4 separate regions of the Homo sapiens genome follow, and all the other regions are linked to region 1. Evidence: promoter capture Hi-C in 16 types of primary human blood cells and fetal thymus (Javierre and others, 2016). All regions are on one chromosome and are shown on one strand. Each heading gives the region's core, a stretch centred on a gene start or on the middle of the fragment in contact. The rest is flanking DNA. Distances are from core to core; before and after follow the strand shown.

The links. The method cuts DNA at HindIII sites, captures the fragments that hold promoters and counts their contacts. A CHiCAGO score of 5 or more calls a contact.
Region 2: a contact is called between a fragment that was not itself captured here and the fragment with the promoter of HNRNPK-AS1 in region 1, in 1 of 17 cell types (M0 macrophages). The highest score is 5.7, in M0 macrophages.
Region 3: a fragment that was not itself captured here is called in contact with the fragment with the promoter of HNRNPK-AS1 in region 1 in 2 of 17 cell types (naive B cells and M2 macrophages); the score reaches 7.8 in naive B cells.
Region 4: the fragment with the promoter of SLC28A3 here is called in contact with the fragment with the promoter of HNRNPK-AS1 in region 1 in 1 of 17 cell types (M2 macrophages); the score reaches 6.6 in M2 macrophages.

Annotation. Positions count from the first base shown.
Region 1 is chr9:83,970,845-83,973,714 of GRCh38, reverse strand. HNRNPK-AS1 (HNRNPK antisense RNA 1) reads right to left here and starts at 1,620. Exons shown (of 2, transcript NR_186535.1): 1 at 1,438-1,620. It overlaps HNRNPK (heterogeneous nuclear ribonucleoprotein K), which reads left to right. Exons shown (of 17, transcript NM_031263.4): 9 at 316-429; 10 at 743-871; 11 at 1,526-1,833; 12 at 1,989-2,043; 13 at 2,359-2,442; 14 at 2,803-2,818. The HindIII fragment of the contact is 2,844 bases long and covers 766-2,870 here.
Region 2 is chr9:84,291,805-84,296,927 of GRCh38, reverse strand. It overlaps SLC28A3 (solute carrier family 28 member 3), which reads left to right. Exons shown (of 18, transcript NM_001199633.2): 9 at 2,653-2,733; 10 at 4,180-4,260. Among named protein-coding and RNA genes, the nearest start is that of SLC28A3-AS1, 16 kb to the right of the region's middle. RefSeq lists enhancers at 297-826, 3,004-3,083, 3,474-3,533. The HindIII fragment of the contact is 3,950 bases long and covers 956-4,905 here.
Region 3 is chr9:84,311,162-84,316,729 of GRCh38, reverse strand. SLC28A3 (solute carrier family 28 member 3) reads left to right here. Exons shown (of 18, transcript NM_001199633.2): 2 at 3,276-3,371. Among named protein-coding and RNA genes, the nearest start is that of SLC28A3, 27 kb to the left of the region's middle. The HindIII fragment of the contact is 7,197 bases long and covers 396-5,568 here.
Region 4 is chr9:84,339,411-84,344,915 of GRCh38, reverse strand. It overlaps SLC28A3 (solute carrier family 28 member 3), which reads left to right and starts at 4,158. Exons shown (of 18, transcript NM_001199633.2): 1 at 4,158-4,342. The coding sequence starts at 4,283. The HindIII fragment of the contact is 9,909 bases long and covers 1-5,505 here.

The DNA of each region.
Region 1 (2,870 bases), core at 371-2,870:
GTGCTTTGCAGTCATTTTTATTATGGTGTTATTTGAATGTTAATAATAATTTTGTGGTAACAGCGACATGCTAAATGGCTGCAGTGTGGGTATGGTGTTGCAGGACCTGAAAATAAAATAGTTTTTTAAGGTGGTGCAGAATGTCCTTTTTGGGCCTGGCTATTGAGGATAATAAGCACATAACTGGTAAAGTTATTGAAATATAAATTCAGGTTGCTCACTGCAACAGTATATTATTGTTATGCTTATAGCAGATAAGTGTGTATTGGGGAATTGTTGATTTGAGACTAAAATTTTATAATTCTCCCTCCACAGTACCAACACTATAAAGGAAGTGACTTTGACTGCGAGTTGAGGCTGTTGATTCATCAGAGTCTAGCAGGAGGAATTATTGGGGTCAAAGGTGCTAAAATCAAAGAACTTCGAGAGGTAAAAAAAAAAAAATTCTGCCGTATTCTTTGCTGGAAAGTAAATTTTCATATAGACTTGTTTCTGTGAGCTTCTCTCGCTTCCCCTCTCAGTTCCCTCCAAAGATTGCTTATCGCAAATGACAAAAAATGTCTGGCACTGCTAGACATGTTATTTTGTCAAAATTTTTATACCATTGCAAAGCCCTGTGATAATTAATGAAGTTTTTATATTGTGGGGGGTTAATTGTTGAATTCAAATGCAATTTTCACTGAACCTAGGAAAGCTAATTTTCTTCTAATTATTATTATTTTTTTTTATGATCTTACTACAGAACACTCAAACCACCATCAAGCTTTTCCAGGAATGCTGTCCTCATTCCACTGACAGAGTTGTTCTTATTGGAGGAAAACCCGATAGGGTTGTAGAGTGCATAAAGATCATCCTTGATCTTATATCTGAGGTACTTCAGAACACTTTTTGTTTACATTTGATTTTATGAAACAAAGTGATAACCTTCTGCAAAAGTAGCTTCAGAGCATTTAGTCTAATAGTCTTTATTTGCCCTTTCCCTAGCAATTTTCTATCACCTGGCTTCAGCCATCACTTTAATTTAAAAATGGTTTTGAAAAAGTGGAGAGTGGTAATTTGTTGGTGGTATTTCTATAGCCTTTGAGCCTTTGAATGAATTTCCTATAGTGTTGCTTGTGTCTTTGTAACTATGCTGCAGGGCTTCCTATCTCAGGTGCCTCAGTATGGATTACAGGCTTGCCAAGACTGATCTCTTCAGCCCTTGTTGTGAAATGTGCATTGTAGTTTGTCATGTGTAAAATGGGAGGGCTTTGTGGTTTCTTACGATCTAAGTGTAAGAGCAAGCTATTACTTCTCCCTGTATAGGCAATAGAACTCACTTTTGTTTAGCATTTGCCAAAAGTATTGGATTTCTTTGGAATCTTTACTTTGCTACTTTTAGCGTTGACATAATTCCTGTTTCTGTCTCTAGTACCTCCTGATGGGGGAATGACTTACATTTTGTTTGATGATGATGTTAGAAGGATTGGTATGAAGCAGGACTCTTTTTCTTCAGTCTGTAAGTTTGTTCCATCTCTGTTTTTAGTCTCCCATCAAAGGACGTGCACAGCCTTATGATCCCAATTTTTACGATGAAACCTATGATTATGGTGGTTTTACAATGATGTTTGATGACCGTCGCGGACGCCCAGTGGGATTTCCCATGCGGGGAAGAGGTGGTTTTGACAGAATGCCTCCTGGTCGGGGTGGGCGTCCCATGCCTCCATCTAGAAGAGATTATGATGATATGAGCCCTCGTCGAGGACCACCTCCCCCTCCTCCCGGACGAGGCGGCCGGGGTGGTAGCAGAGCTCGGAATCTTCCTCTTCCTCCACCACCACCACCTAGAGGGGGGTAAGTTGTTTTTTTTGTTGTTGTTGTTTTTTCTTCCCCCATCTATGAATTATTAACCTGCAAGAGGCTGCACTTAGTGGTAGACAAGGTAGACTTTGATTTGATATGTGTGGCATGTAAGCACGTTTAGATTACAACAAGTACTATGCTTGCAGAGACCTCATGGCCTATGACAGAAGAGGGAGACCTGGAGACCGTTACGACGGCATGGTAAGAACTTTGGTTTATTACCAGTGTGTTGGGTATGTGAGGGTTGTCACAATGTAGTTCACGTTTTGTTGAAGGTTATAGTGATTAAAAAGTTTTTCTTACAAGTAAATTTTGTTTGGATTACTAGTTAAATAATTCTGTTATTTGCTGCTGGAGGATTACGACTTTATTGAGCTTTGTTCCCCTCGATTACAAAATTGCTGCCTATATATGTACCCTCTTTTGTTTTAATGTAACATGCAAATTAGGCATATTAAAAACAGCTCTATAACAAAATACAATGCGGGTTCATGTTAATGTTTTTATCTCTAACAGGTTGGTTTCAGTGCTGATGAAACTTGGGACTCTGCAATAGATACATGGAGCCCATCAGAATGGCAGATGGCTTATGAACCACAGGTTGAGTATCATAGTTGTTCGTGTGTATATCAGTGATAATTTAAGATGCTTACCTGCTCTCCAGTAAGTTTTTTATTCCCCTGAGGATACTTACTGAAAATAGGATACAGGAGGACTTTGGTTTCCTGAAGAGGGATTTTATGAGATTAAAATACTTGAATAGTGAAGCTGGGTGCAGTGGTGCTCACTCATAATCCCAACTACAAAAGAGTCTGAGGCAGGAGGATCACTTGAGCCCGAGAGTTTGAGACCAGCCTGGGCAACATAGCAAGACTCCATTTTATTAAATGAATTTTTTTAAAGTACCGGTAGTAATTACAACGGCAAAGTAATTTTCTATTTTTTTCTTTCTGTTTTTAGGGTGGCTCCGGATATGGTAAGTTCTCTCCTTTGTGAAGTCAAACATTAATTTCATACTTTTTAAATGA
Region 2 (5,123 bases), core at 1,681-4,180, 320 kb before region 1:
AAAGGGTAATAGCACCTTCGGCCTTCAGGGAAAAGAATATTATGTTCCCAGCAACAAGTAGGCATGTGGCAGTGAATGGCTGATGGGTCCAGGATCAGTGACAGCTCTGTATTCGAAAGCCCCTCAGTCCCAGTCCTTGGGGCAGCCGGTCAACCACATCAACCTCTGTTTTAGAGCCATCCCCGTGCTAAACGTTTCTCATCTCTCCTTCAGCATAGCCTTTGCCTAGGCAGGACTAGGGGATAGGCCTTCTCCTAACTAAAGAAGGAACATTATTTTACAGGGGAAAGGCAGCTTGGCCCCATGGCTGGCCACAGTCAGTTCCTTCTTGAGGCTCCCACATGCCCCAGGAAGCCCATCCTCCTCTGGGAAGTCCCTACAAACACTTGTCAATGAGTCAGAAACATGCATTCGGGTTTTCCTTCAGCTTTCTTTTTTTGTGGTGTGTTGTTATTCATACACTTCTAAATTGTTTTCTCACTTAGAGACTCCAAATTTACCTCCAAATTACCCCAGCTTCAGTTAGGCCAACTTTTAGGCTGAAAAAAGATTCAGCCTAAAACGTTAAACCAGCAGTTTAGTGGCAGGCTGGAGAAGAGAACCTCTGCTGTTTGTAAGAAGCCTGCAGTTTATACAGCATTTCACTTAGCACCCTCCCCCAGCAACCTCTACCTGGCAGTTTAGCTGGTTTGATGTTTTAGGGCTGAGATAACTCAGCCATCTCTGAAAGGCCAAATGTTTATAGAGTGAGATAGAAATATACTCATATCATGAAACGAATTCAGAATTGGAAAAAATAAAGTCATAAAGAAGGAATAACTTGCTACCCAGACTATACAGGTGTTTTCAGGCCTTCCCCCTCCCCTCTTCCAGGGCAGTGGCCCCTATTCTTTCCTGCCAATGCAGAATCCTCTGCTAACATTCCAGAGATGAGCCTCTTTAACTCCCTCAAGCTTTCAGGAAGGCACTGCCTACCCATTAAAGCCAATAAAAGGCTCATCGTGAGTGAGCTCTGAATACTGGCACAAAATGTCTTTTAATATATATTATTAATGGATTTTTTTCTAAATTAGATCCTGTACAAATTGTCCTCGGTCATTCTGTGCCTCTGGTAGCAGCTTTCTCTGGCCAGTTAGCCGGGGAACAGTAGGGAGGGGGTACAGTAGGATGAGGCTGAGGAGGGACCCAGCCCACAGCTCTTTGTGGTCTATGCAGGGTAGAAACTGCTCTCTGTGGAAACATTGGCTGCACTGAAGGCACCCAAAGAGCATCAGGAAAATAGGATCTAGGAAAATGCAATGGTTTTTTGTTTGTTTGTTTTGTTTGTTTGTTTGTTTGTTTTTGTGAGATGGACTCTTGCTCTGCCATCCAGGCTGGAGTGCAATGGCACAATCTCGGCTCTGCAACTTCTGCCTCCCAGGTTCAAGCAATCCTCCTGCCTCAGCCTCCCCAGTAGTTGGGATTACATGAGTGTGCCACCACGCCTGGCTAATTTTTGTATTTTTAGTAGAGACAGGGTTTCGCCATGTTGGCCAGGCTGGTCTCAAACTCCTGACCTCAGGTGATCCGCCCGCCTCAGCATCCCAAAGTGCTGGGATTACAGGTGTGAGCCACCGAGCCCAGCTGGAAAATACAATGGCCTTTAACACAGAACTAAAGTAGCTTCCAAAATGCAGTCACTTTTTAGTAATTTGAAAATCTATAGGTAAAATCACTATTATTTTAAAAGCTAGAAGAATGAATGTTTACTGCATAAGGTCATGACAGACCCCTATTGACTTCAGTAGGGGGGGCACCATGTTTGAGCGGCCAAAGAAAAGACCTGGAGCCAGCAAATGAGACATAGGGTTTATTGAGGGGGACTCACATGCAGGGCAGTCCAGTGGCAGCAGGCTAGAGAGGAGAACCGCTACTGTTTGTAAAAGGCAGGCAGTTTATATAGCATTCTCACTTAGTAACCTCCCCCAGCAACCTCCACCTCCCAACCTTCATTTAACCCAAAACAAAGGGCCTGGATCCCCCATATGGCCTGCTTTCCACGGAATGGGCCAAGGGTTCAGATATTCCTTATAGATAAGGAATGAATCTTTGGAATGGCCGCTCCCAGGTTCCTTAGTTTGGAACTCCAAACACACACGCTTAGACCATAGGGTCATTCTCAGGACATGCTGAAGTTATTGCTGTCAGGTGTGTCTGCCATCCAGTAGGAGGCACTATGTGTCAGCACCTACCATGCCTTACCTGATCTCTACAGCTACTCAGAATAAGGCTCTGAGGTTGCTCACAATTTATCTCAACTTAGGTTACTCTGCTAACTAGTGGTGAAGCCCATGTCTTTTTAGCACCAGGACAAGAATATTTTCTGACAGCCTTCAGTGTATTGATCTAGGTATTACAAATCCCCCCAAACTTCATTCCTTCTTTGAGCAAAAAAAGCTCACCATAGAAGACAGGGGAAAAAAGTCAAAGTCCTGTGACAAATTAGAATAAAAGACTGTAGATAGGGAAGCTGCCTGATTAAAGTTCAAGAGGAGTTTCCCATATTTTTATGATGTTTCAGAGGGAGAAAAGGAGACAGAGAGGAGGCCTGATATAAAACCTGCTGGTGCAGCTGGACCCATCATTAATCCATGTTTGTTTCTGTCCCCACAGGTCCTGCCGATCGTGGTTTTCTTCAGCACTGTGATGTCCATGCTGTACTACCTGGGACTGATGCAGTGGATTATTAGAAAGGTACTGGGGCTGGGAGGGACTGGGTTATAGGTGTAGAGCTGATTATCTCAGGCACGAAGTCCTCAAGGCCTTTTATGCAGGTATTTACGAAGTGCCTTTCTCTTCCTACCATTATCCACCATCACCACCTAAGTGATTAGATTCAAAACCTCCAATCCTAAATGTGTCCATGGAGGGAATTTTATCTCAGGAGCTTCTAATAGGGTTTTGATTTGCAAAGCACTGGATATCTTCATGAAACTATAGCAGTTACTTCTTTAGCGGAGGAATTGAGGTCAGATACTGCTGGGGGAAATGATGTTATTCCTTCATCTTGGTTAACCGCCCTGTGCTTATCTTTTTTTCTTTTTTAAGCTACTCCTTAATTGTATGCTACCTTGCTTAAGGAGGTTACAAAAGTAGACACTTCTGGTTTTGGAGGTGCTAGAGAAATTGAAGCAAAAAGGAGAAACAGCTTTTCACTCCTGAGGGAGTTTCATAAGCATGAGCGTGCATGCATACACACACACATACACACACACAGCTGAAGAGTTCATGTCCTTCCTGCTGCCCTAGCCTCAATGAGTCCTATGTTCATGTGTTAGATCAGAGGACAAGGAGCTCCGTCAGCTAATTTGGATGCACCACACACGAGCACAGAGCAGTGCAGGCAGTGCTTGGGGCACAGCCCCAGCCCTCCTTGATCCCAATAAATAAATCAAAATGTACAAAAAGGAAGAGAAGAGAGAGAGGGAACCAGAATACAGGTAGTAGCAGAGTTCAGAATGACAGCAAGAACTCCAGGGCCCATAATTTCCTGTTTAAACCCCAAAACATTCAGAATTGTTATGCTCTTGTCTAAACTAAAAAGCAAGGAGAGAGAATGCAACAGGAAGTCCTCATCCACCATCTCTAGTTGAAAGGCCAGTACAAAAGTGGAACCAAAAACCACGTTCATTTCAATTAAGTAAAAAAGACCAAACCTCAAATACATCCTGCTACATATGGGTGACCTTTGACAAAACAACTAAACTGTTCTGTGCTTTGGTTTCCTCTTTAATAAAATGAGTATAATTACATAGGACCTCTCTCAAAGAGTTATTGTAAGAATTAATTGCATTTTCTGGACTGTCAAGGGCTTAACACAGTGCCTGGAATGCAGTAAAGCCTTCCATAAGCATGTTAGCAATTGTCATTTATTACTTGTATACAATAGACCTATAGAAATTGATTTGTATAATGTTCAAAGTATACGCAATGACTCAGACTTACTACTCCAATAAGAGGATTTGCTTGGCCTGCTCTAGGGGCTCAATAAGTTAAACTTACCTTTAGCTCCATCATTAGCTTGCTGACAAATGTTGAAGCCCTCAATATTTTACACCAGTTTAAGGATTTTAATCCCTACTTTGAAGTTTTGGGTATACAAAAAGTTCTTTGCTGACTTTGTCCCTTTCTTCCTTTTAGGTTGGATGGATCATGCTAGTTACTACGGGATCATCTCCTATTGAATCTGTAGTTGCTTCTGGCAATATATTTGTTGGACAAGTAAGTTGTAATATCAACAGAACAAAACATCTGTTGAAATGGATCGTCTCTTTCCAAAAAGCCAAATAAGAAAATAACACAATGTTCTTTTAGTGTAGAGAAAATGGTGTCAAAATAAGAAACCCCCAGTATTGGCAATGTCCGGATTCCAGGGGGAGAAGAGAGAGAGACAGAGAGAGAGAGAGAGAGAGACAGAGAGAGAGACAGAGAGACAGAGAGACACAGAGAGAAATTCCTTTTAACAGTCTGGGTATGGTATGTAGAATTGGGTTCTTGAGAATGTTTATGAAGAGGATGGAAGGTTGTCATTTTATTAAGGCATAGACATAGAGCTTCTCATATAGATTCTCAATAAATCTGAATTTAGTGATTGTGAGGTTTCTGGTCAACTCTTCAGAGGCTGGTAGCTCTTCCACTTGAATGGATTTCACTATCTCGAAATCTCCAAGCTACAAACAGCCTCCCATTCTAAACTATAATGCCTGTGGCAATGGAGGAGACCAAGAAAGCCTTTCCACCAACAACCATGCAACTGCGTAAATACTTGAGCTTATTCTCAACTTGTCTGAACTGGCCAATATTCTGTCTTTGCTGAGCCTGAAGAAAAATGCTTTTAGGTTTTTCTCTTCTCATCAAAAATAAGCTTTTAGACTTCAATTTTCACCTCCCTGTTCCATCACATGGAGAAACGCTCTTTTGCCTGAAGCCCATTTAAGCAAATAAATATCATGCCAAGGAGTGTCCCTCAAAATAGCAGCATGGCTAAGGGGTGGATCAGTAAGAAATTGTAATAAGCCCCTCATCACTCCAGATATGCAGCTTCAGGCAGAATGGAGTCACACGCCACGAAAACCAGGTATGAA
Region 3 (5,568 bases), core at 2,745-5,244, 340 kb before region 1:
CGCCCAGACAAGAGTTTTACACAGTGTCTCCTGCCTACTAAATACTGTATCATTTGGTGCAAAATAAAAGCAAAAACCAAAAGTAACAAGAGAAAAGTTAGTTTCATCCCAATAAAGTTGAGGTGGATGGTACAGAGCCGGGGTGAGCCTCCTGCTCAAGGCTTCCAGGGACCCAAGTTCCTCCCAACTCAGCACCCTGACATCACAAGGATGTGGGCCTTGTATCCATGGTCCAGTTGGAACCATCCTCACACTGGGCAGCAAGACAGAGGAAATGACAAAAAGGAACAAGTGCACCTGCCAGCCATCCCTGGCGGAACATTCCCCGAGCTGCCCCCAACAGGGCACCCTTTCTACTTTCATTTCGTTGCCAGAACTTAGTTGCAAGGGAAGCTTGGATATGTAATCTTTTTCCTAGGTGACCATGTGTCAGCTAACATTCTTTGAAAAGGGATACCACAAATAGGGGAGTCATTTTAGAAATTTCCAGTGTTCTAGAAGTTATTATATGGTTTAGAAAGTGAATGAAAGGAAGAAAATAAAAATGCCTCTGTCCATCTCTGCCTCCCTCTAATAGCCACATAGAAAGTGCAAGATCAAAGAAATGGTGGGAAACAAACCCCAGGCACAATGTACTCCTGGTTACTAGGCTGTCCCTTCAAAGGGGGCTCAATCAGGACCCTCATCTTTTAGCACACCTAACAACTAAAACTAACTAGAGAAATTAAATGTGTAAGCTGTAAACGGCCTAGACATACTCACAATGCAATTCCCTCACCTTTCTTACACATTCAACAGAGGGATAGATTTTACCATGAGAACGCAGTCGTGGTTGTAGGGCGTTAAGTGTGCAAAGGTATTTAGTAATGTGAGTTGCTAAATAAATGGAAAGAAACATTGAGCTAAGACATTATCTGGGGCCCCATATCACAGCCCCACGACTCTAATTTAAAAAGAAGAAGAAAGACAGTTGTCTTAATGGTCATTTTCCAGGTACCAGTCAATATCCACAATAACCCCACTAATTCTGTTGGAAATCCTCAAGTGGGAGATATTGTTCTTCCAGAAAATACTAAAAGGCCAAGGCGTATACTCTGTTGGGGGCCAAATAAGACTATTACACAGTGGAGAACAAAACCACACGTGCTCTTGTTGCCACTTAAAGGAGTGCCCACTCTATCCCTCAACACACACACCTTCCACTTTCATTAACTTTAAAAACGTAGGATCCACCCGTGTTCCACCAGTAGTTTTCAGATCCTGCCACCAGGTGGCAGGAGGAATCAACGTCAAGAAGCTGAATCTCCTAATAGAATTAGAAAATGTCAGGATTCCGTAAGGATCCGCAAGAACCCCAAATCCAAACTGTGTTGTATGAATGAGGGAGTTAAGGCTTGAGAGAATGTGGCCTGCTCAGTAGGGACCCTAAGGACTAGCCCCTCAGTGACCTGTGTTCTGTTACTCCACCAATTCATGTTTGGTTTTATTTTTAACTTAGTATTAAGGAACATTTTAGCATCCACCAAAGTAGGAGAATAATAAAATGATTCTCCGGGTACCTGTCAGCCAACTTCAGCAATTAGCAACATTCTGTCATCTTCCCATACTATGTATATTTTTTCTTTTCATGCTGTTTGTTTGTTTGTTTTTTGAGACTGAGTCTCGCTCTGTCGCCCAGGCTGGAGTGCAGAGTGGTGTGATCTCAGCTCACTGCAACCTCTGCCTCCCAGGTTCAAGCAATTCTCCTGCCTCAGCCTCCCAAGTAGTTGGGATTACAAGCACCTGCCACCACGCCCAGCTAATGTTTGTATTTTTAGTAGAGACGGGGTTTCACCATGTTAGCCAGGATGGTCTCAATCTCCTGACCTCGTGATCCGCCCACCTTGGCCTCCCAAAGTGCTGGGATTACGGGCGTCAGCCACCACACCCAGCCCATGCTGTATTTTTATACCAAGAACCCAAGGGTACTACATTGCTGTGCTAATGCAACATTAAAATTACTGTGGGTCATTAATTCAAAACATTGTTAGTGTCTGCTATATGCAAAGAACTGTAGGATATAAGCAACTGTAACAAAAAAGGAAGTATGGCACAATACTTTGATGCATGAATCTTGTACTGTAACTTTTTTTTCATGTTTATTCATTCTTGTGTTTCAGTAAGTAGAAAATGCAATACAACTTGGAATTGCAATATTTGCTGGATTCCTGGGGCCAGTCAGAGATCTAAGTTAAAATTAGAGTCATACACTTGGTCTTTGAAGATGCAGTCATAGTCGTTGGGCTAACAGAAGGCATTTCCTGACACCATTTATCCATTACCTCACTCTAGAAAACGGCAAGTTGAAATGAGATGGGAGAAATATTAGATACCTCAAAAAAGATAAAAGAGACAGGAGACAGGTCCAGTGTTTGTCACTTCTGGAAACAGCAGCTGAGGGGTCCGGACGGCCCTATAAGAGCAAATCTCGTTCAGTTCCTTAAAGTAAAATCAAGACAGCCTCACACACACACAAAAAAGGGCATTTTTCTTATGACCATTACTGCCAGAGATTGCTTTAAACCAAAAAAAACCCATTTCAACATTTCGTAAATCTAACATCTAAGAATAAGGCTATTCAGCCTATGGTTTACCACGTTTTAGTTCATTTTATAAGTTGAAAATCAGTGTGATGTGATAGAAAGGAGAGTGGAAACCTGCCCCTGGTCCCAGCTCTGCCTATTGGAAAGTTATCAGGCCGAGATGAGGGCAATTGTCCTCATTCCTCTCTTCCCCTGGACCACTTTTGTATCAGAACAAAACAAAGCAAAAGTCATATGTTTCTTTTCTTTACTTTCTTTTCTTTTCTTTTTTTTTTTTTTCAGGTAGAGTCTTGCTGTGTCTCCCAGGCTGGAGTGCAGTGGCATGATCTGCCTCTGGGGCTCAAGCAATTCTCCTACCTCAGCCTCCCAAGTAGCTGGGATTATAGGTGCACAACACCACGCCCAGCTAATTTTTATATTTTTAGTAGACACAGGATTTTGCCCAGGCTGGTCTCCCCTCCCACTTCGGCCTCCCATCATGCTGGGATTACAGGTACGAACCACTGTGCCCAGCCGATCATCTGTTTCTTTACAAGCCCAGGATTTGTCAGCTGTTTGTTGAATCGGATGCTTCATCTGAACACCTAATCTTTGTTTGTCTCATCCTCCAAATTCCTCTAGGTATTTTTCATGAAAGAACATCTGTCTTTTGGCTGTAACTTTTTATTTTTTCAATCTGCACTTTTTTCTTAGAATGAAGAAAACTTTCTTGAGAACGAGAACACATCAGGAAACAACTCAATAAGAAGCAGAGCTGTGCAAAGCAGGGAGCACACAAACACCAAACAGGTACAGCAAGACTGTGGTGCATGACTCTAGTACCATGGCAGCCGCTGCGCAACAGGCACCTGAGAACAGTGGGCACAGAAAGCATGGCGCCCCACTGGCACGCAGAGGAACAGATTAAGTGGTAATTAAAGTGTGTGGGGGCATAGTCGTAAAGAAAACACACACGCCCAAACAAAGAGATTTTGTTTTTATCCACCTGTCCTCAGAGTTCCCTGATGGGAAGCATCACTTCACTATTAGGAGTTCCAAGCTCCATCTCAAGGAAAAAGGCATTGGCTTAGACAAAAGCATCTGAGCTTTAACGTAAATGACAGAAACAAGAGGAACCCTCTACTATGGTTCTGAATCTGGGTCCATCATGCACTCGCATTCCTTAGTAGCTTTATACCAGTCCGAGGGACTCTTGCTTAATTTCACTTACATGTTGAATTCTGGACAGGAGTTTATTTAAAGATGGCTTCCTGTTGCCAAAAAGGTGAACAAATTACCCATGTAGGTCACCCCTTAAAAGGTAATTCAGGGCCGGGCACGGTGGCTTATGCCTGTAATCCCAGCACTTTGGGAGGCTGAGGTGGGCGGATCACTTGAGGTCAGGAGTTCAAGACCAGCCTGGCCAACATGGTGAAAACCCATCTCTACTAAAAATACAAAAATTAGCTGGGCGTGGTGGCGTGTGCCTGTAATCCCAGCTACTCTGGAGGCTGAGGCAGGAGAATCACTTGAACCCAGGAGGTAGAGGTTGCAGTGAGCCGAGATGGCACCACTGTACTCCAGCCTGGGCGACAGAGCGAGATTCTCAAAAAAAAAAAAAAAAAAGGAATTTGGGGTGCCCACTAGTGTGTCATTTTGTGAGGAGTTTTCTCGTGGTAAAAGAATCACTTTTTTTTAAAGTAGACAATTTGGAAAACTTATTGTAGCAAAATTTGGAAAACCAAAAAAGGCTTATAATTCAAGAAAAAAAGTCAGTGCCTAACATTTTGGAACACAGCCTTTTTTAATGCAAACATACACCCACATGCATATGTCATCTGTATTGGAATCATACCATGCATAGTACAGTGTTTGGTAACTGTCTATTTTGCTTAATTGATTGTAAAAAATGTTCACTAAGTATTCTTCAACAAACAAAAAAGAAAACAATACTTATGTCCACATAAAAACCTACACATGGATGTTTAGAGCAGCTTTATTTGTAATTGCCAACACTTGGAAGTAACCAAAATGTCCTTCAGTAGGTGAATGAATAAATAAACTGTGGTACATTCAGACATGCAGTGTCTTTCAGCGCTAAAAAGAAATGAACTATCAAGCCATGAAAAGACATGAAGGAGCCTTAAATGTACATTACTGGGTAAAAGAAGCCAATCTAAAATGGCTACCTATTGTGCGATCCCAACTATACGACATTCTGGAAAATGCAAAACTATGGAGACAGTAAATAGTGCTTTCAAGGCATCAGGGGGTGGTAGGGACAAATAAGAAGTGTGGGGTTTTTTGTTTTTTTGAGATGGAATCTCGCTCTGTCAGCAGGCTGGAGTGCAGTGGCACAATCTCAGCTCACTGCAGTCTCCACCTCCCGGGTTCAGGTGATTCTCCTGCCTCAGCCTCCCGTGTAGTTGGGATTACCGGCACCCGTCACTGTGCCCAGCTAATTTTTTTTTTTGTATTTTTAGTAGAGACGGGGTTTCACCATGTTGGCCAGGATGGTCTTGATCTCCTGACCTTGTGATCCGCCTGCCTTGGCCTCCCAAAGTGCTGGGATTACAGGCATGAGTGACCACGCCTGGCCATAAGAAGATTTTTAGGGCCATGAAACTAGTATGCCTGATACTACAATGGTGGATACATGCCATCATACATGCGTCCAAACCCATAGAATGTACAAGACCAAGAGAGTCTCACTGCAGACTTTGGGTGATGGTGATGTGTCCATGTAGGCTCCTCAGTTGTAACAAATGTACTTCTCTGGGTTCATTTGATAGTGGGGAAGGTGAGGGTGGGTAGACAATACATGAAAAATCTCTATAGTTTCAGCTCCATTTTGCTGTGAACTTAAAACTGCTCTTTTAAAAATATTTTTAAAATATTTTTTTCATAAAAACAAAAATTTAGATATTTTTCAATTATAAATGAGGATATGAAGGCTGAGGAGTAGCTACTGGATTTGATAGCAATGGGCCTTGGGTGACATTGGCAG
Region 4 (5,505 bases), core at 2,909-5,408, 370 kb before region 1:
AGGGCACAGCTTGGTTTTATACATTTTAAAAAGGCATGGGACATCAATCAAATACATTTAAGAAATACATTGGTTTGGTCCAGAAAGGCAGGACAACTCAAAGCAAGGGGAGGAGGGGGTTGGGCTTCCAGGCTATAGGGGAATTTAAACATTTTCTGGTTGACAATTGGTTGAGTTTGTCTCAAGACCTGGGATTCATAGAAAGGGAATATTCAGGCTAAGATAAAGATTGTGGAAACCAAAGTTCTTCTGAAGTTTTATAGTGGCTGCCCTTAGAGACAAAGGATGACAATGTTTCCTTTTCAAAATATGTCAAAGAAACATGTTTTGGGGTAAAATATTTTTATTTTCTTCCTTGTCTCATAATGTTATGCGAGTCAGGTTTGAAAGTAAGTCATGATATATAGGGTTAAATAAAACCCATCTGGGCCGGGTGCGGTGGCTCACACCTGTAATCCCAGCACTTTGGGAGGGCAAGGCAGGTGGATCACTTGAGATCAGGAGTTCAAGACCAGCCTGGCCAACATGGTGAAATTCTGTTTCTACTAAAAATGTAAAAATTAGCCAGGCATGGTGGCACACGCCTGTAGTCTCAGCTACTCGGGAGACTGAGGCAGGAGAATCACTTGAACCCGGAAGTCGGAGGTTGCAGTAAGCTGAGATCTGCCACTGCACTCCAGCCTGGGCAACAGAGCAAGACTCTGTCTGACCAAAAAAAAAAAAAAAAAAACCCATATGATGAGAATTTATGATTTGTAGGGCATGACTCCCCAGACCCCTTAGATCATAATTTGGGCAAGATAAAAAAAAAATCAGAGCTTAGTCCTCAGGTACTGTTATCTCCGTTTTATGAAGGAAGAATCTGAGATACAGAGAACTCAGCTACTTGCCCAAATTCCCATGGCCAGTAAGTCTTCCCACCTCAGCCTCCCAAGTAGCTGGGACTACAGGCACGTACCACCACACCTGGCTAATTGTTGTATTTTTTGTAGAGACGGGGTCTTCCTACATTGCCCAGACTGATCTCAAACTTCTGGGCTCAAGCGATTCTCCCATCTTGGCTTCCCAAAGTGTTGGGATTATAGGCATCAGCCAGGTAGTGGATATTTTGTCTTTGAGCCGTGTGGTATTTGTCACAGCTACTCAATTCTGTCCTTATGGGATGATAGCAGCCTTAGACAATACATAAATCAATGGCCATGTTTCTGTTTTTACAAAACTTTATTTATAGACACTGAAGTTTGAATTTCATATAACTTTAATGTGTCAGGAAATATTCTTCCTTTTAATTTTTTTCAACCATTTAAAAATCTAAAACCCATTCTTAGCTCTTGGGCCATATAAAAGCAGCAGAAGGTTAGGTGTGACCCTCAAGCTGTGGTTGGCTGTAGTTATGAGGTAGAGTCCAGGATTTGAACCCAGACCACAGGTTCCTGCAAGCCTTTAATCATTATGTATACACTGTACAGTCTGTATCATGATAACAAGAAAAGAAAAATAACTCCCACAGTCTGAGCTATGTGAGATATGCAAAATCTATCAGGCCCAGAGAGACTGGGCCTCAGTCACTGATAAAGAGAAAACAAAAATAACTCACACAGTCCCAGCTATGTGAGCAATGCAAAATCTATCAGGCCCAGAGAAACGGAGGGTTGGACTTCAGTCACCACTCAACCCTGTGCCCGGGGGCAATTTTTTTTTGCTTTTGTTTTTTGTCTTTTGTTTTTTTTTTGAGATGGAGTCTTGCTCTGTCACCCAGTCTGGAGTGCGGTGGCGTGATCTCGACTCACCACAACCTCCACTCGACTCACCACAACCTCCACCTCCTGGGTTCAAGCAATTCTCCTGCCACAGCCTCCCAAGTAGCTGGGACTACAGGCATGTGCCACCATGCCTGGCTAATTTTTGTAGTATTTAGAAGAGACAGGGTTTCACCATGTTGGCCAGGCTGGTCTCGAATTCCTGACTTCATGATCCATCTGCCTCGGCCTCCCAAAGTGCTGGGATTATAGGCGGGAGCCACTGTGCCTGGCCAGGGGCAATTGTTTTAAAGGAATTTTGTTCCTGACTGGCTGCCTTTCTGTTCCTAGAATGTGTGATACAAATAGCAATGTATAGCCAATCAATAGCTTATGTTATTTTAATGTAAATAATTGGTAAACAACTCAGAAACTCCTTCTTTTCCTTTAAAATTCACTTGTGGCCAGGCACAGTGCCTGTAATCCCAGCACTTTTGGAAACCAAGGCAGGTGGGAAGATTGCTTGAGCCCAGGAGTTCAAGACAAGTCTGGGCAACATAGTGAGGCCCCCAGTTCTACCAAAAAAAAAAAAAAAATTTAGCCATGGGTGATGGCACCTGTCTGTAGTCCCAGCTACTCGGGAGGCTGAGACAGGAGGATAGCTTCAGCCCAGGAGGTCAAGGTTGCAGCAAGCCATGATCATGCACTCCAGCCTGGGCAACAGAACACACACACACACACACAAGAATCTACTTGTAACTGCTACTAAGTGTATATTCAGAGCAACTTGAATATGTGCTCCCAAGTTGCAATCTCAAACTTAGACCAAATAAACTCTATACTTACATTAAGTTTGTCTCCGTTTTTTCCTTTAGGTTAACAATAATAAAAGTAAATCATTCTCTTTATAGAAAACTCAGCAGCATTTGAAGGAGAAAAAAAAAACACCAACTGCCCATAAAATTAAAAACCGAGAAATAACCACTCATAATACTTGGTATTTTCTTACTTTTTCTTTTTCTTTTTCTTTTCTTTTTTTTTTTTTTTTTGAGACAGGGTCTCACTCTGTCATCCAGATGGGAGGCAGCGGTGCGTTTTCGGCTCACTGCAATCTGTGTCTCCTGGGTTCAAGCGATTCTCCCGCCTCAGCCTCCCGAGTAGCTGGGACTACAGGCGCACGTTATCACTCCTGGCTAATTTTTGTATTTTTAGTAGAGATGGAGTTTCGCCATGTTGGCCAGGCTGGTCTTGAACTCCTGGCCTAAAGTGATCCACCCGCCTTGGGCTCCCAAAGTGCTGGGATTACAGGCGTGAGCCACCGCACCAGGCCTTTTCCATTCTTTTGTCCACAGTTTTGCAGTATTTTAAATTGTACTAGGGGGGAAAATCCCTATTTTAAAAGAATTCTACAGCTAATATTTTCATAAAGCAAAGTGAATTGCTTTATGAAAACAAAGCACTTCTATTCACTTTTGATAATTGAATAGCTGGTCACCTTTCATTTACTTGTCACATATCGGCATTTCTGTAAGCTGGATTTTTGAAAGCAGCCCAGTCTGAAGCAGGGATGTAATAAAAGGTTTTGGAATTAACCAAACTTGAATTTGAATTCTCATTATCCCTTTATTAGCTAAATGACACTAAACAAATTGTTAACTTTTCTGTACTTCAGTATAGAATTTTGAGTTGTTCGGAAGAAGAGCCAAGACCCTTACCTACCTACCTATCTGTCTATGTATCTATCCATCTATCCATCCCTGGTATACAGTAGGTGATCACTGAGGGCGGCATGACCTTATATCCTGTGTTCACTCACCCTCCACCCCACCACCACTCCTAGTCTTTAACACCACCCACAGGAAAACAGAGGATTTCACTAAGCACTATAGAGAACGTGTCCTTTTCTGGCTGGGCACGGTGGCTCATGCCTGTAATCCCAGCAATTTAGGAGGCCAAGGCAGGTGGATCACTTGAGGTCAGGAGTTCAAGAACAGCCTGGCCAACATGGTGAAACCCCGTCTCTACTAAAAATAAAGTCAGCCAGGTGTGGTGGCATGCACCTGTAATCCCAGCTACTTGAGAGGCTGAGGCAGGAGAATTGCTTGAACCTGGGAGGCAGAGGTTGCAGTGAACCGAGATTGCGTCACTGCACTCCAGCCTTTTTTTTTTTGAGACTCCATCTCAAAAAAAAAAAGAAAGAAAGAAAGAAAAAGAAAGTGTCCTTTTCTGTTTTGTGCACCACAAGAGTTTTCTCCCCAGGAGTGCAAATAGGATGCCAAAAATGGGGATAAAGGAAAAGATTAATAAGGTGGGCGGGCCAGCACTAGATGCCTCCACCCCGCCAACCCGCCCGCCTCTCTGCCCCACCCCAACCAGGTGTCAGCCCTAGTCATTCAGGAGATTATTGCAGAAGTTTCCAAACTGAAGCAAGCTGTGCCCAGGTCCCTGTAACAGCAGGTGGCTTTCTGACATCAGCAGAGACTGGTGCTTTTTCCCAGGTACAAAGGACCTCCAGACCAGAGCCAGCCAGCAGCAAAAAGAGCATGGAGCTGAGGAGTACAGCAGCCCCCAGAGCTGAGGGCTACAGCAACGTGGGCTTCCAGGTGAGCAGAGCTTTCCTCTTATGTTAAAGGCCTTCAGTGGAAAAGCTGCCCTTTCCTTAGCCCCTTGGCAAGTTTCTTACCTAAGCAGGGAGATTATCAGGACAATACGATTTTTAACGGCACACTTTAAGCCCATTATTTTTTCTTCTTGGGCTCTTCTGGGTTGACAAACCTGAAAAGTCTCTTTTAATCGATGTGTTGTGATCCCTATGGTCACTTAGAAACAAGACAGCCTTCTTCTCTTGCCTTTTTTCCCTTCTGGCTCACAGCAGGGGTCCATTATTTATCTTCAGGCACTTTTCCAAAGAACTGGTGAGAAGGGAAAAATGGGGGAATTTAGATCCTGGCTGGGGTAGTGTCTCAGGGTTCCTTTTACTCAAGCCAAGTCCTGGAGCCCCTGTCAGATGGCCCCGGTACCTGCCCCAGAGCAGCTGGATTACGCAAATCAGTCTCACTTCATCAACCAAAACTCACTGAGTGATTAATGCTGCTCAGCCCGAGGCTGGGTGCCCGCAGAGACATAGAAGGAGACCTGTCAGAAACACCAGGCTATTTTGACTGGGTCTGGGATGGGGATTTCCAGGGCTGTTTTTAGGTGTGCTTCCTTTCCTTAGCTGACACTCAGCATGGGCGCTCTGGAGAAGATGGGAAGCCTGCACCGGCAAGTGTCAACAATCCCTTGGACTTTACGGTCTGCTAGATGGGCAAAACAAAACTTTGAGGTGCTAGCCAAGAAAGGAAAGAGGGAGGTAAAAGGGCTTTGACAGGAGTTCAGACTCCAGCACCCACAAATTCCTGTAACTTCCCAGAGCCCAAGTTTGATCATCTGTCCCATGGTCACAGTGATGCCCATCTCCATGAGTAGGCATCGGGTTACCACTTATAGGTCACAAGTGTAGGAGAGGAAACAACTTCATCTACCCTCTTAGGTTGAGTGCCTGAGGCCTGCAAATTAAACCAACATAAAACAGATTAGCAGGAGAAAAGGCACGCAAATTTTATTCATATTTAAAATCTCACATGTGGCTGGCAGTGGTGCCTCATGCCTGTAATCCTAGCACTTTGGGAGGCTGAGGCGGGCTGATCATTTGAGGTCAGGAATTTGAGACCAGCCTGGCCAACATAGTGAAACCCCATCTCTACTAAAAATACAAAAATCAGCC